Regions from separate parts of the Homo sapiens genome. Here all the other regions are linked to region 1. Evidence: promoter capture Hi-C in 16 types of primary human blood cells and fetal thymus (Javierre and others, 2016). All regions are on one chromosome and are shown on one strand. Each heading gives the region's core, a stretch centred on a gene start or on the middle of the fragment in contact. The rest is flanking DNA. Distances are from core to core; before and after follow the strand shown.

Region 1 (4,459 bases), core at 1,263-3,762:
CAGTGAGCTGAGAGCGCGCCATTGCAGTCCAGCCTGGGCGACAGAGGGAGACTCCATCTCCAAAAAGAAAGGGGGGGAAAAAGCAATACTTGCACATAATACAAATGGAATCATACAGAAAGCTACAAAGTGGTAGTGTAGTAATCTGTTTTCACGCTGCTGACAAAGACATACCTGAGACCGGGCAATTTACAAAAGAAAGTTTTATTGGACTTACAGTTCCATGTGGCTGGGGAGGCTTCACAATCATGGTGGAAGGTGAAAGGCACGTCTCAGATGGAGGCAGACAACTGGAGAGAGCTTGTGCAGGGAGACTCACGTTTGTAAAACCATCAGCTCTTGTGAGACTTATTCACTATCACAAGAACAGCACGAGAAAGACCTGCCCCCATGATTCAATTACCACCTACTGGGTCTCTCCCACAACACGTGGGAATTCAAGATGAGATTTGGGTGGGGACACAGCCCTACCATACCAGGTAGTAAGTTCTCCCTTAACCTCAGGCTTTCAGTTCTTCTCCACAGAGCCTGACTAGTTTCTTGTGTATTGCTCTAGAGACATCCTAAAGCCAAACAAGTGGGCATGCATACACATATGTATATTTTAAGGGGCTACATTAAAAATATTTACTACAAGTACAACCAACTGGAATGAAGGCCCATGGTATATAGGATGTGCCAAAATGCCTACTGCATATTATCAGCCTTGCATGTATTCCTTGCTTTTATACACTAGTTTGCTTAAATTGCTTTTATCATCTAGTAATAATTTGGAGATTGTTCCACATCAGCACACGTAGAGCAACTTCATTCTTTTCAATGGTACTGTATTTTAACCACTTTCTACAGAAGGATCTTTAGGTTTTCCCCAGACGTTTGTTACTCGAAACAGTGCTCTAACAAATATCTTTACACAGCCTTAATTTATCTGTTGCATAAATGTCTAGACAAGGAAATGCTGGGGAAAACAGTATGCACATATAAAGTTATGACTGGTATTATTACATTTCCTTCCAAAGAGGTTTATCGTTTTTATCCCCACCAACAATGTAATGAGGGTCTACTTCCCAAACCCATGCTAACTCAATATATCTTTACCAGCCCAAAGGATGAAAAACAGTGTCTCACTGATTTAATTTGTATTTAATCTAAGATTAAATTTTAAGTTTTGTAAAACCAAGTTTATCTCTGTAATTGGAGAAAACATCATCCATTAACGTGAAAGGTAATAAGCTGATGAGACTAAATTCAAAGCAAAAGCTCGCTGAGAGGATCTGCCCAATGAGGAAGATGACAGTAGTGTCTGATTTTTTGCTCAGTGCCACCTCCTCCTTTTCCAACAGATAGCATTTGGGAGTGCTGAGTTATAAGAAAGTGTGGTGCGCTCGAGGCTTGCTTGAGGGTATGGAAATCTTGAGATAGGTCTGGAGAACCAGGGAGAGTTAAAAGAGAAAAAAAGTAAGAAAAAAAAAAGAACTTAAGGACTATCTGATCTGAGAGAGGCTTACAAAAATTAGCGTTTTGGTTCACTATTTCTCGCTATTTCTGCATTTCATTAACTGGCAGGGATCACTGGATACTCTGTCATGAATACATATGTTGGGTGTAGTTAGAGAACCTCAATGTCATTGAACCCGTCTTGTGGGTTTTTTGGAGAGAATGAGAGTATGCTGGGAGACATGCTCTGCTTGCAAATGATCAACCCCCGAGGCCAACCCCATTCATCATTTATTTTGAGGAACTGATGATCAAGACAGGAATATGTATGCCTGCCTACAAAATCCTCAAATCAGGCCACTGAATGTTCGACATGAGAACTTTGAATCACATAGAAGATACTCCAAAGGCAGAGAAAAATAGAAAGCCTTCCGACGCCCTGAAAAAATCTTGACCATCCCTGACTTCCCCCAATATGTAAGAAAACCTGTATTATTATTACACACACACTCCCACACACACCCCGCCCTCCCCCACACACACACCCTCTATCCTCACTCGATCTTATTCTATTCGCTCTATTTTTGAGCCTTGGATGTTAAAGTAAGGAACGAAGCTTAGTGGGGAAGCACTGAAGTGCATGGCGCAAATTTAGATTTAAGCCTCACGTTAGATTTCAGATTTGCACATCGAGTCCCGCCCCTATCCAATCCGGGGACGTCACCGCCCTAGTCTTCGGCTGTTTTAAAAGCAAGCGGTTTTTAAAACCCCCAATCCTGCTCTTTGTGTTGGCCTCCTCGGAGTTGCCCCTCTGCAAGCCAACAATTCGGGATAGAAAACACCTCCGTGGTGTTTTCCCGGGGCCCTCCCGCGCCGCGTTCGGCCGCCAGCCCGCTCGAGCTCCCGCGCCAACGCCTCAGGGGTTCGCCCTCCGCCCCCCGCCGCCGCGCCCGGCCCACGCGCAGGGCCCCTCTCCAGCGCCCCCTCCCCGGCACGCTGCGGCTGGCGCTCCCCAGCCCCGCCTGACGCTGCAGCTGGGCCGGAGACTCGCCATTGGATTAAAAATAGCGTCGCCAGTCCGCCCCAAGCCCGCGGTGCCCGCTCCCGCCCCGCAGCCCGCTCTCCCCGCCCGCCCCGGCTCGGCCGGCTGCCGTTGCCCGCGCAGCCCGCCCGTCAGCCCGCTCGCTGGCGCCGCCGCCGCCGGCAGACCCCGCGCTCCGGCTCCGGCTCGGCTCGCTCGGCTCCGGTGCGCGCCGAGGCCATGCAGCGCCGGGGCGCCCTGTTCGGCATGCCGGGCGGCAGCGGAGGCAGGAAGATGGCTGCAGGAGACATCGGCGAGCTGCTAGTGCCCCACATGCCCACGATCCGCGTGCCCAGGTCCGGCGACAGGGTCTACAAGAACGAGTGCGCCTTCTCCTACGACTCTCCCGTAAGTGAGGCGCCTCGGGGGAGGGTCGCGGGGCCGGCGGCCTGCGGCACGTGAAGCCGGGGGAGAAGATGCGCAGTGGCGGCCGGGACCTCTTCTCTTCCTCCGGGCGGCAGAGTTGGCTCAGGAACACTGCAGTTCGGCAGACACTTAGTGAGCGCCCCAGGGCTGCTGCAGCCGAGGACTGGCTCGTGCTGGTGGTTTTGCTCCGCCAGCCTCCCCAGGCTGGAAGGGCCCGATTCCCAGCAGCTTGCACACAGCCCCGCCGCCGTTTAAAGATAGATGAAATACAAGAGTTCCCTGTTCCGAACTGCACGTTGCAGATCGTTTGCGTCCTCCGCGGGGCAGAGCGCAGGGCGGGTAGGTGGACGGGATGATCCCCCCACACCCCGGGACACACACAGCCCTTCTTTTTCTGGGACCACTTGCTTTGCTCAGGGATCCCCACTTCTGGACAATTCTGATTTGCTCTCTGAGCTTTTCTTCCACCAGTTCCCATTTCACCCCACTCCTTTTCTTGTCTTTAGAATGTCAGGGCCAGGCGCGGTGGCTCACGTCTGAAATCCTAGCACTTTTTAAGAGGCGGAGGCGGGCGGATCGTTTGAGGTCAGGAGTTCGAGACCAGCCTGGCTAATATGGCGAAACCCCATCTCTACTAAAAAAGAACCCCAAAATTAGCCGGGCGCGGTGGCGGGAGCCTGTAGTCCCAGCTACTCGGGAGGCTGAGGCTTGAGAATCGCTTGAACCGGGAAGGAGGAGGCTGTAGTGGGCCGAGATCGCGCCACTGCCCTCCAGCCTGGGCGACAGAGCGAGACTCCGTCTCAAAAAAAAAAAAAAAAAAATGTCAGACGAAACCTTCCGGTGCCTCCACTCGGGCAGCAGAAATAGGGGATCTACTGGATTGCGATGGTTTTCTTAAGCCTTCCCCACCTTGCCCTTCTAAATGAGTCACTTGGACTGACATGCGCAAGTATAAATTATTAAAAGTTCAATCCCGAGTCGTGACCTCGGAGAATGAGGAGGAAGCTGAGAGGGATCGCCGCCTTCCACCCGGGGCGGTTGGTGGTGGTTTTCACCTGGTTCTATGTGAATGTGTGAGAAGCAGCAGGAGGGTGAATGTCCCTTTCAAAAGTCAAAATGGGCTTCAAAGTGACTCAGCTGTCTGGCGTTTATCATGTCTTTTTGAGGACCAGGTTATTTTTATCCACCCACTTTAGATCTCATATGTCACCCGGCAGATCTCAATGCATTGGGAGGCGCATGGATTGGATGGACCGAGGCAGGTCTCGCAATGGTCTAATGTATTTTATTCATAGCATGTGGACTATTGTCAGAGGGGAAAAGAAAAGTCCAAATGAGCGGCAACATTTCCAAAGTTTCCTTTATTATCTGTGGGTTGATTTTGGCTGGCTTCAAAGCACTTTTGCTCGACACACACTGGAGTATCAGAGTTAGTATCCTCTCTGTGACATTTAGTTTTTTTATTTATGGTAACTCCATATCATTTGAGGGATGAAACCTAACTTAATTTTTGATTGTTTACTTTTTTTTTCTTTCGAAAAGATCCACAGAGTGGAGTGTGACAATCGGCAGTCC
Region 2 (4,459 bases), core at 1,000-3,499, 3.2 Mb after region 1:
GTCTTTTTGATTATAGTCATCCTAGTGGGTATGAATAGTATCTTACTGCGATTTTGGTTTGTGCTTCCCTAATGACTAATGATATCCAATTTTTTTTATGTACCTGTTGGCCATTTGTGTATCATTTTTGGAGAAATGCCTATTCAGATATTTTTGCTTTTTTTTTTTTCTTTTGAGACGGAGTTTCACTCTTGTTGCCCAGGCTGGAATGCAATGGCACGATCTCAGATCATGGCAACCTCCGCCTCCCAGATTGAAGTGATTCTCCTGCCTCAGCCTCCCAAGTAGCTGGTATTATAGGCGCGTGCTACCAGGCCCAGCTAATTTCTTTTTTTTTTTTTTTAGTAATGATGGGGTTTCTCCATGTTGGTCAGACTGGTCTCGAACTCCTAACCTCAGGTGATCTGTCTGCCTTGGCTTCCCAAAGTGCTGGGATTACAGGCGTGAGCCACCGCACTGGGCCGCTTGTTTTTAATTGGGTTATTTCTTGTGTTTTAAAAAAAATTCTTGAGTTGTAAGACTTCTTTATATATTCTAGATATAAGACCTTTATGAGATGTGATTTGCAAATATTTTCTCCCATAATGTGGGTTGTAGTCCTACTTCTTTTTAAACTCAATGTTTTTTAGCATTAGTTTTTAATTAATATGGTAATTTTTATTTAGCACAAGGATTTAGTGATATCTTTTACTCATTATTGTTTCTTGCATACCACCTCTTTCTTCTGGATTTAATTTTATTCTTGCTGAATAACTTCTTTAGTTGTTTTTAAGCAAGAGTTCATGAGTGGTAATGTTTTTATTTCATAGTCACTATTGAATGGGAATTTAGCTAGATACAGAATTCTAGATTAATGGTTACTTTAGCTCTACGTATTGGAGATACTACTTATTCCATTACTTTCTGACATTTATTATTGCTGTTATGAAATATGCTTTTAATCTAATTGTCATTACTTTGTTGGTAATATCTTTCACATTATTTTTAAGATTATCTTTGTCCTTGATATTTTGTAATTTTACTGTGATGTATCCATCATGTTTTTTCATATTGTTTTTCCTGCTCTGCATTTGCGTGTGCTTTCAATCTGAAGACTATACAATTCAGAAAAATTTTTAGCCATTTTTTCTTTAAAATATTATTTCTCAGCCTTTAGTTTTCTCATTCTAGAACTCTTGCTTGACATATGTTGAAGCCTCTTAATTTGTTCTCTATGGCTCTTTTCTTATTCTCATCTCATTTTCTATCTGTGCTGTTTTCAGCAGAAATTTTTTATTTCTAGCTTCTAGTCCACCAATTCTCTTGTTTTCACTGTAGTTTATCCTGTCTTCTGAATTTTTACTTAAATGACAATTTCTCATTTTCAGCATTTATTTATTATTGGACCTTGTTCATTTCTGTCTGCTCTTTCTGCATATGTGCCTGATTTGTTTCATAATTTTTCATTAAAAATATTATTCCATTATTCCTTTGGAGATCTTAAACATACTTATTTTAAAGGTACCCAGCTTTTTCCAGGCTTCTTTCAAAGGTGGGAGCAAGCCTGGACCCAAGCACAATACTACTAATTGAACCTGACTCTAGAACCATGGTGCAGAGGGGGTACTGCTGATTCTTATCCGGCTATTCTTATCCTATAGGAGTTGAACTTCAAACTGCTTATTTCCACACTGAGAGTCCCAGAGGCTCAGCTCCTGATTACAGAAATGATTATCTTATGTTAAGCTTGGCTAAGTATTAATTTAAAAAAAAAAAAGACTATCTGTCTTTGCTTTTGTGAAGTAAAGGGAACAGTTCAAAATGTAGACCTTCCCAAAGCCAATAGCCAATTAGTGTCACAGCCAGGACTTGAACCTAGAGAGTTTTTCCAGGGAGTTTAGTAGTGTGGAATAGAATTAGCCATAGTAGGGAGAATGAAATAACAGTAGCTTCCACCGTTATCTCTTAAATCTGCCTGAAAGTGTGATAAGACTACAGAATGCATTAGGGGAAGGAAAGTCTAGCAGTGGTATTCTGGAGATGGTGGTGACAAGTTTGTAGAGGAAAAAGAAAAAAAAATGATCAAGAGTTTCTAGTCCAGCCATGGCCATTCTCAAGGTGAAATATATTTTATTAGTTAGGCCTGGCTTATATCTTAATGTGTATCTCCTCTTACACATGTTATATAGTGTAAATGGCAATGTGTACATTGATTTTAAACAGCGTGGCAAATTATTTTTTAGAGTTTTCAAAAGTTTTAAATTCCTTGGGAGCTCAAAAATTATTTTGACATTTGAGAAATTTGTGACCTTGAAATAGAAATTAGAATTGCAGCAAAGAGATAAGGTGGTGCCCATTTTTAATAATAGCTTTTATCATATCCATAAGGAAATTATGTCATACTTTTAAATCTATTAAGGTTATATTTTATAATATTCTGTAGGAAAATAAGTGAGTCATCTATGATTTAATGCTATTTTAGTCAAAATTGTACTTATTCTACATATTTTACTTTTTGTGCTTATTAAAAAGGCTTTTTTTAAAAATGAAGTTTTATTCAGGGGAGGGGCGTGGTTTTCTCATTTTGGTATTTCCATAGTTCTAAGCATATTACCTTGCTCATGATACTTATAAATTGAATTATAAGATCAAATACTAAGTGGCTTGATATTTCAGAATGATCAAACATTTTAACTTAACTGAGTAGCAAACACGTTTTTCTTTATAAGTGATACACATAGGTATTGTAAGATTTTGCTTTGAAGAGTCTTTTGCAATGAGTGTAATTGGCGGATAAAGCTTGAGCACAATATAGTAAGTCCAAGTCTTAATCATATGTTACCTAGAACGTTGTTTCTTCACTTTTTCATCTCCTGAACTACAAGGGGAATGTAGATACTCTTGCTTATTTTAGCTCTCCACTATGCTCTTTAAGGTACGATAAGTTCAGAAACAGTGAGAGTGAACCTGATTGTTTACTATGGAGAGACTGTAAAGTAGTTCTCTAATCTTGTGTTTTCCTGTTGAAGTTCCAGTGTTGTAAAGGAATTGGTTTCTAACTTAGATATGCAGGAGACCCTCATACCTTGTGGATCCAAATCTTTATGCAAAGTTAAAGGGAATTGATGCAGTGCTAACCTGCCAATGTTGATCAACATTTTTTTTCCAGCATATATTTGTAGTATTTTTTTTTTAAAGAGGGAAAAGCTGAAGTATCTTAGGAATGTATTATGAGAAAGGGAAAGTCAAAATTTGTAAAGAATGCTTTTAACAGTTTTTTTTAGTTGGTAGTCTCCCAGGCCATGGGTTCCATAATGATGATGTTTCATGTAGATTGAGATAAAGCTCTCAGTGGTCTATGGCAAAATGAGAAAAATGAGGTCAGTGTAATCTGTGTGTTTGCATAAATTTATAGATGTCCTTGTTTTTGAGTAATTTTTTTAACATTTTAAACATAAACTTTATTTTAGAATGGTTTTTGATTAACAAAAAAGTTGCAAATATAGTGGAGAGGATTCCTGTACCCTTCTCTCCCACCCAGTTTCTCTTATTGTTAACATTTTACATTACTGTGCAGCGTTTGTTACACCAATATTGATGTGTTGTTATTTAACTGCATACTTTATTTGAATTTTATTAGTTTTTCCCTAATGTTCTTTTTCTGGTTTAGTTTCTCAGACTTTAATTTAAAGTCTTAGATTGTTTCCCTTGCTTTCTTTTTTATTAATATTCTTGGTTAGAAAAATAAAAAGTTGGCAACCCTATGCCAGTTTCCTAATTTAAAAAAGTTTTACCGATCTGTGAAATCCAAAACTGTTCCCTCCTATAGGAGATTAAAAAAATAGAAGTCCAAAACTCTGAGAACCAATGCCTTTGGTTATTAGAAGTTAGTGTGATAACCATTAACAATTAAAGACTAAGTTTCCTAATTACATTTTATTTATATTCTATTTTATTTCTTTTATTTAATTTTAATTATTTTATTTTATTGAGACAGACTTTTGGTCTGTCGCCCAGGCTGGAGTGCAATGGTGCCATCTCCGCCTACTGCAACCTCCGCCTCCTGGGTTCAAGCGATTCTCCTGCCTCAGCCTCCCAAGTAGCTGGGACTACAGGCATGCTCCACCACGCCTGGCTAATTTTTGTATTTTTAGTAGAGACAGGGTTGTGCCATGTTGGCCGGGCCGTTCTTGAACTCCTGGCCTCAAGCGATCTGCCTGCCCTGGCTTCCCAAAGTGCTGGGATTACAGGTGTGAGCCACCACGCCCTGCCCGCTCTGTACACTAATAAGCAATCCTGTACACATCCTTTGCTTGAACTGTCACCATTTTGCTTGCTGGGTTCCAATATCAAGTCCAGCCCTCTTTTCTAAGCTCTAAGCAAGTATATCCAGTTGCTTTCCAGATTGTTAGATATCCATGCTAGTTGTCTCACATTTAAAACAGGAAACAATCCTGATTTGATCTTAAGTATGTGAGAT
Region 3 (4,459 bases), core at 551-3,050, 3.0 Mb after region 1:
ACAATAAAAGAAATTCAAAATAAAATGGTGCCAGGGAATAATCAGACAAGTGTAGAATTGCATACAAAAATATTAATTGAGCTATTATAATAAGGAAAACTTGAAACTACCTTAATGTTTATTAATTCACTGTAAGTTAAATAAATGGATATAGACACTAAATTTGTCCCTAAAAATATGTAATGTCATTGGACAATTCCCACTGCAAAATATGATGGAAAAAAGCATGTGATACTGATGTTTAGATATATGCAAATTTCATATTTTCTACAGTAAAAGTATTATTCTAATAATTAAGGAAAACGCTTTTTAAACAACCAACATGAATGCTTTTGACAGGGATGCCATCGTGTAAGTTAATTGCCAAATAAACTAAATAAACTTTTTTTTTTACTATTATTCTTCAGTTGACAAATAAAAACTGTATAATTTACATTGTATGACATAATGTTTTGAAATATACATAAATATGCTTTCTTGGATGCTCACAATTTGGGTACACTTTGGAGCATACTGGAAAATGCTCCTAACGTTGGAAGCAACACAGTCCCCTTACTTGAGCGATAAAATGTTACTTTGTTCCTTAAATTAAAGAAAGGTTCGAAGTTTAGTTTGACATTCACCTCTGCCTTTATAAAACAAACACAGCCTATAAAATAACTTAAACGCCCAGAGTGCCGAGTTTCGTCGGGCCCTGGCTGCGCCGGGCCGAGCCCTGCCCCGCGGAGGTCGCCGCCCAGCACGGTCTGCAGATGGCAGCCTCTCGCGGAAAGCCCCGCAACGCCGCTTCCTGCCTGGGGGCGGCACTTGGGGCCCGCGCCGGGGTTTCAGAAACCTGTTCGAGCCGTTCCTTTATGGCGGAACGTTCTTATTTAGTAAATATTTATTCCACTCCCCGAGGACCCAGCACTAATCACTGCCACTTCTCTTTAATAATAAATGGTGAACTTCAAATGCGGCAGAACTCAGCCGGCTAATCAGTGCTCGCCGGGAGGTGCAAAACTGTCTGAAGCCCACCGGTGGACATGAAAGACGGAACATTTCCTGTTCCAGCTCTCGGTGGCCCAGAATAAACTTCAGCCGAATGAGAGGATGTCTAGGCGGCCGCCCCCCGCGCGCCGGCCCGGGAGCCCGGGTTCCATCTGCCCGCGGCCCGGAGGTGCGCCCCTGCCCGCTTCGCCCCGGGGACCCTCGGAACCCGCGGCTCTGCCCTCCACACAATCTGGGCTGCCGCTCCCTTGGGCTTTTCGTGAAAGCTTCCTTTTAAATTCGCTGTTTGGTCGCAAGCCATTTAGCCCTTTCCGTGGGCCCGGGCGAGGGGCGGAGAGCGGAGAGCGACCCGAGCTCCTGGGAACCTGGGGGCTCCGCGCTGGGGACTCCAGGCCGCCCGCCTCGGCTCTGGCCAAGGGGTCAGCACGTGGGGTGGCGTTTGCCCCAGCATTCCAGCCCTTTGGTCTCCAAAGGCTTTTTGTATTCACTAGGGAAGGTAAGGGCCGCCCCTTTAATGGTTGCATTTTGGAATGTAACAAACTATGAGGACCACCCGGTACGCTTGCGTTGGCATCATACGAGCCCCGCGGTCCCACCGTCACCCACGGCTGATTTGGAAATGCCACGGGGCCTTTGGACATATGGAAAGACTTTTGGCCCAGACACAATAATAAAAATATTCAAAACGTCTTGAGACATAACTCATTTATCTACAATTCTGTTTACTCAAGGTGTAATTTTCATTCTATATTGCCCATTCTGGTGAAGACATGAGTGTTTGAAGCGGGCTGACTATAGTTTTATGATAAGCCATATTTTAGCTTTAAATAAGAACTGCATTGCCTCCAAAGTATTCCATCTTTTGTGTAACAGAGACCCACAGATCCTAAGTGAAATTTGTTCTCAAATTTAACACATTTCTGTAACATATTTAAACCTGAGTTAATTTAGAATGGGTTGCTGGCACCACTGGGATTGATACTGAAATGGTTTTGCCTCATTCACATCGAGCCCTGCAAATGTACTTTAAATTCTACGCTCTTAATAATCCCTAGGCATGGAGAAAAGATTGGAAGTTCTTTTTCTACAACCGCTCACTGAAAACAACACAGTGCACGGTTTCAGTGATGAGCTTGGAGTGCCCCTCTGTGGAAGAAGGTGGGCACTGCAATTTTTCTTTCCTAAATTGACTTGCCGGTGTCTTAGGAACTGTGGTTCTTTACCTCTGCCAACCATGAAATTCGATGTTACTTTTCCATTAACTTTTGTGGATTGAACCTCACTCCTTGTTTTATATAGAAACTTAAATATGTGTTGAAAATAATGAATGAATCTTCTTGTCTCTCCTGCCCCCAAAGCTTTCCAACTGATGATAAAAGATGAGAACATTTTCTTGCAAAGCCCAAAGCTGTGTTAGTACCTATTCTGACATTTAGGACTAGACAGAATGGCTTGATAAGGAGCACAGATAGATGTTATCTTATGTGCCCGCAGGGGCTGCTACAGAAAGCTACTGAGACAGAGTTTGAGCTCAGGAAGAAAAGAATGATGTGATACAGAAAGTTAGGTGCAGAAAGTAAGTTAGTTACTCTCCCTCCAAAGAGTTGAAACCTGTGTTATTGATCTATAACAGTGCTGGCCATTGGCTCATTGTCGTGAGTTTATTTCATTTACTTCCGTTTTAATCTCAAAAGTCAAAACAGTGTATTCAGGCAAGGCAAGGTGACTCACACCTGTAATCTCAGCACTTTGGGAGCCTGAGGCAGGAGGATCACCTGAGGTCAGGAGTTTGAGACCAACCTGGGCAACGTAGCCAGATGCCCATCTCTCAAAACATTTAAAAATTAACTGGTCATGGTGGCGGGTGCTTGTAGTCCTAGCTACTTGGGAGGTTGAGGAGGGAGGATCACTTGAGCCCAAGAGTTCAAGGTTGCAGTGAGCCAAGGTTGCACCACGGCACTCCAACCTGGAGTGAAACCTAAATTTGGTTTCCCTCAGAGGTGATAAATCTTCACCTGAGTCATATGTTCAAGTTATACTTTAACAAGAGATATTTTCATTAGGATGCTTTTAACTGCGACTAAAACCCAAAATCTGTCTTATACAATACATGAGTACATTGACTCATATAACTGAAAATTCAGCTCAAGCTTCAAGCAAGGGTTGATATAGAGACCCCCCACAGTGTCACCATAGTATTAATTTCCTTCCATTTTTCTGCTTTATTGTCCAGGATATTGCCAAAAGGGGGATGGATGAAGCCACCAACATCATGGCTGCTCGAAGGAGGTAACTCAATGTTCTCTAAGAAGGAACGACACATGAAAATGGCTGTCATTTGAAAAAAATATATTTTTATCAAAGAGAAAATAATCTACAGATAAGACAGTATTTAAGAAGCAAAGCTTTATTTATTTTGAGTCTGTTTAGGTCCATGGTGGAGGAACTTGTCCTCCCATTTGCCACAGTATAAACGTTTAGTATGCCAATAAAAAGAGGCTGTGGTGAATCCCAACACACACACCAGGCTTCACACAGCACACCAAACTCAGTGCACCTGAGAGAATCCATGGTCTTGACTCTTCATCGTCTAGGGAAGTAACTGAGACTCAGGGCAGAGAAGTGAACATAAATTTCATCATATGAAAACTGAAAAGGCACTTCAAAACGTAAGTGGGGATCAAAGCTCTGCACACCAAAACTTGTTTATTAGTCAAGAAACAACAACTGCAGGCCGGATGCACTGGCTCATGCCTGCAATCCCAGCACTTTGGGAGGCCAAGGTGGGTGGATCTTTTGAACCCAGGAGTTTGAGAATAGCCAGGCAACATGGTGAAAACCCATCGCTACAAAAAATTAGCCAGGCATGGTGGCGTGCACCTGTAGTCCCAGCTACTTAGGAGGCTGAGGTGAGATGATCACTTGAGCCCAGGAGGTTGAGGCTGCAATGAGCCAAGATCATGCCACTGCACTCCAGCCTGGGTGACAGTGCAAGACCCTTTCTCAAGACCCTGTGGTCCAATTACAGATAGCAAGCTTCTTTTTCTCTGATACCCACAGCTCCTACTTGGCTTCATATGATGTTTTCTAAATTGATACACACACGGCAAAGAATACATTCCATAGTGTAGGAAATATAACTGGTATATGAATATCAAGTGCAGGATCTCACCAAGATTATTGTTTAGGATGAGCCTATAGTTTACACATCACTGATAGTCCATCTTTTATACTCTGTTTTTTAACTTTAATTTTAGAATTCAGAAATAGCCATGAACCTTCCATAGAGTCAACCTTGCACATTGAAAGCAAATTTTACATGCCGCTGTATTCACAGAAAAGATTTGGATACTCTGGATATGTATAAAGGTTTACGAGAAAAAATTTCTAAAGCTTTAAAGGCTGTCAGTCTCTTTAGTGTCAAGCCACTGATTTCTTTACCTTTTTTTTTTAACTTTTTAAAGAAATG

Evidence for each region. Contacts are between HindIII fragments. The CHiCAGO score rates a contact against its expected background, and 5 or more counts as called.
Region 2: a contact is called between a fragment that was not itself captured here and the fragment with the promoter of USP13 in region 1, in 1 of 17 cell types (M1 macrophages). The highest score is 5.9, in M1 macrophages.
Region 3: a fragment that was not itself captured here is called in contact with the fragment with the promoter of USP13 in region 1 in 8 of 17 cell types (total B cells, naive CD4 T cells, naive CD8 T cells and 5 more); the score reaches 11.9 in total B cells.

What each region holds. Positions count from the first base shown.
Region 1 is chr3:179,650,528-179,654,986 of GRCh38, forward strand. USP13 (ubiquitin specific peptidase 13) reads left to right here and starts at 2,513. Exons shown (of 21, transcript NM_003940.3): 1 at 2,513-2,866. The coding sequence starts at 2,699. RefSeq lists silencers at 2,245-2,324, 2,335-2,674 and an enhancer at 2,343-2,986. The HindIII fragment of the contact is 8,280 bases long and covers 2,052-4,459 here.
Region 2 is chr3:182,805,298-182,809,756 of GRCh38, forward strand. The region is part of intron 1 of ATP11B (ATPase phospholipid transporting 11B (putative)); the gene reads left to right. Among named protein-coding and RNA genes, the nearest start is that of ATP11B, 14 kb to the left of the region's middle. The HindIII fragment of the contact is 1,053 bases long and covers 1,724-2,776 here.
Region 3 is chr3:182,681,625-182,686,083 of GRCh38, forward strand. No RefSeq gene overlaps it. Among named protein-coding and RNA genes, the nearest start is that of LINC02031, 40 kb to the left of the region's middle. RefSeq lists silencers at 638-707, 1,118-1,187 and enhancers at 858-907, 2,032-2,081. The HindIII fragment of the contact is 1,092 bases long and covers 1,255-2,346 here.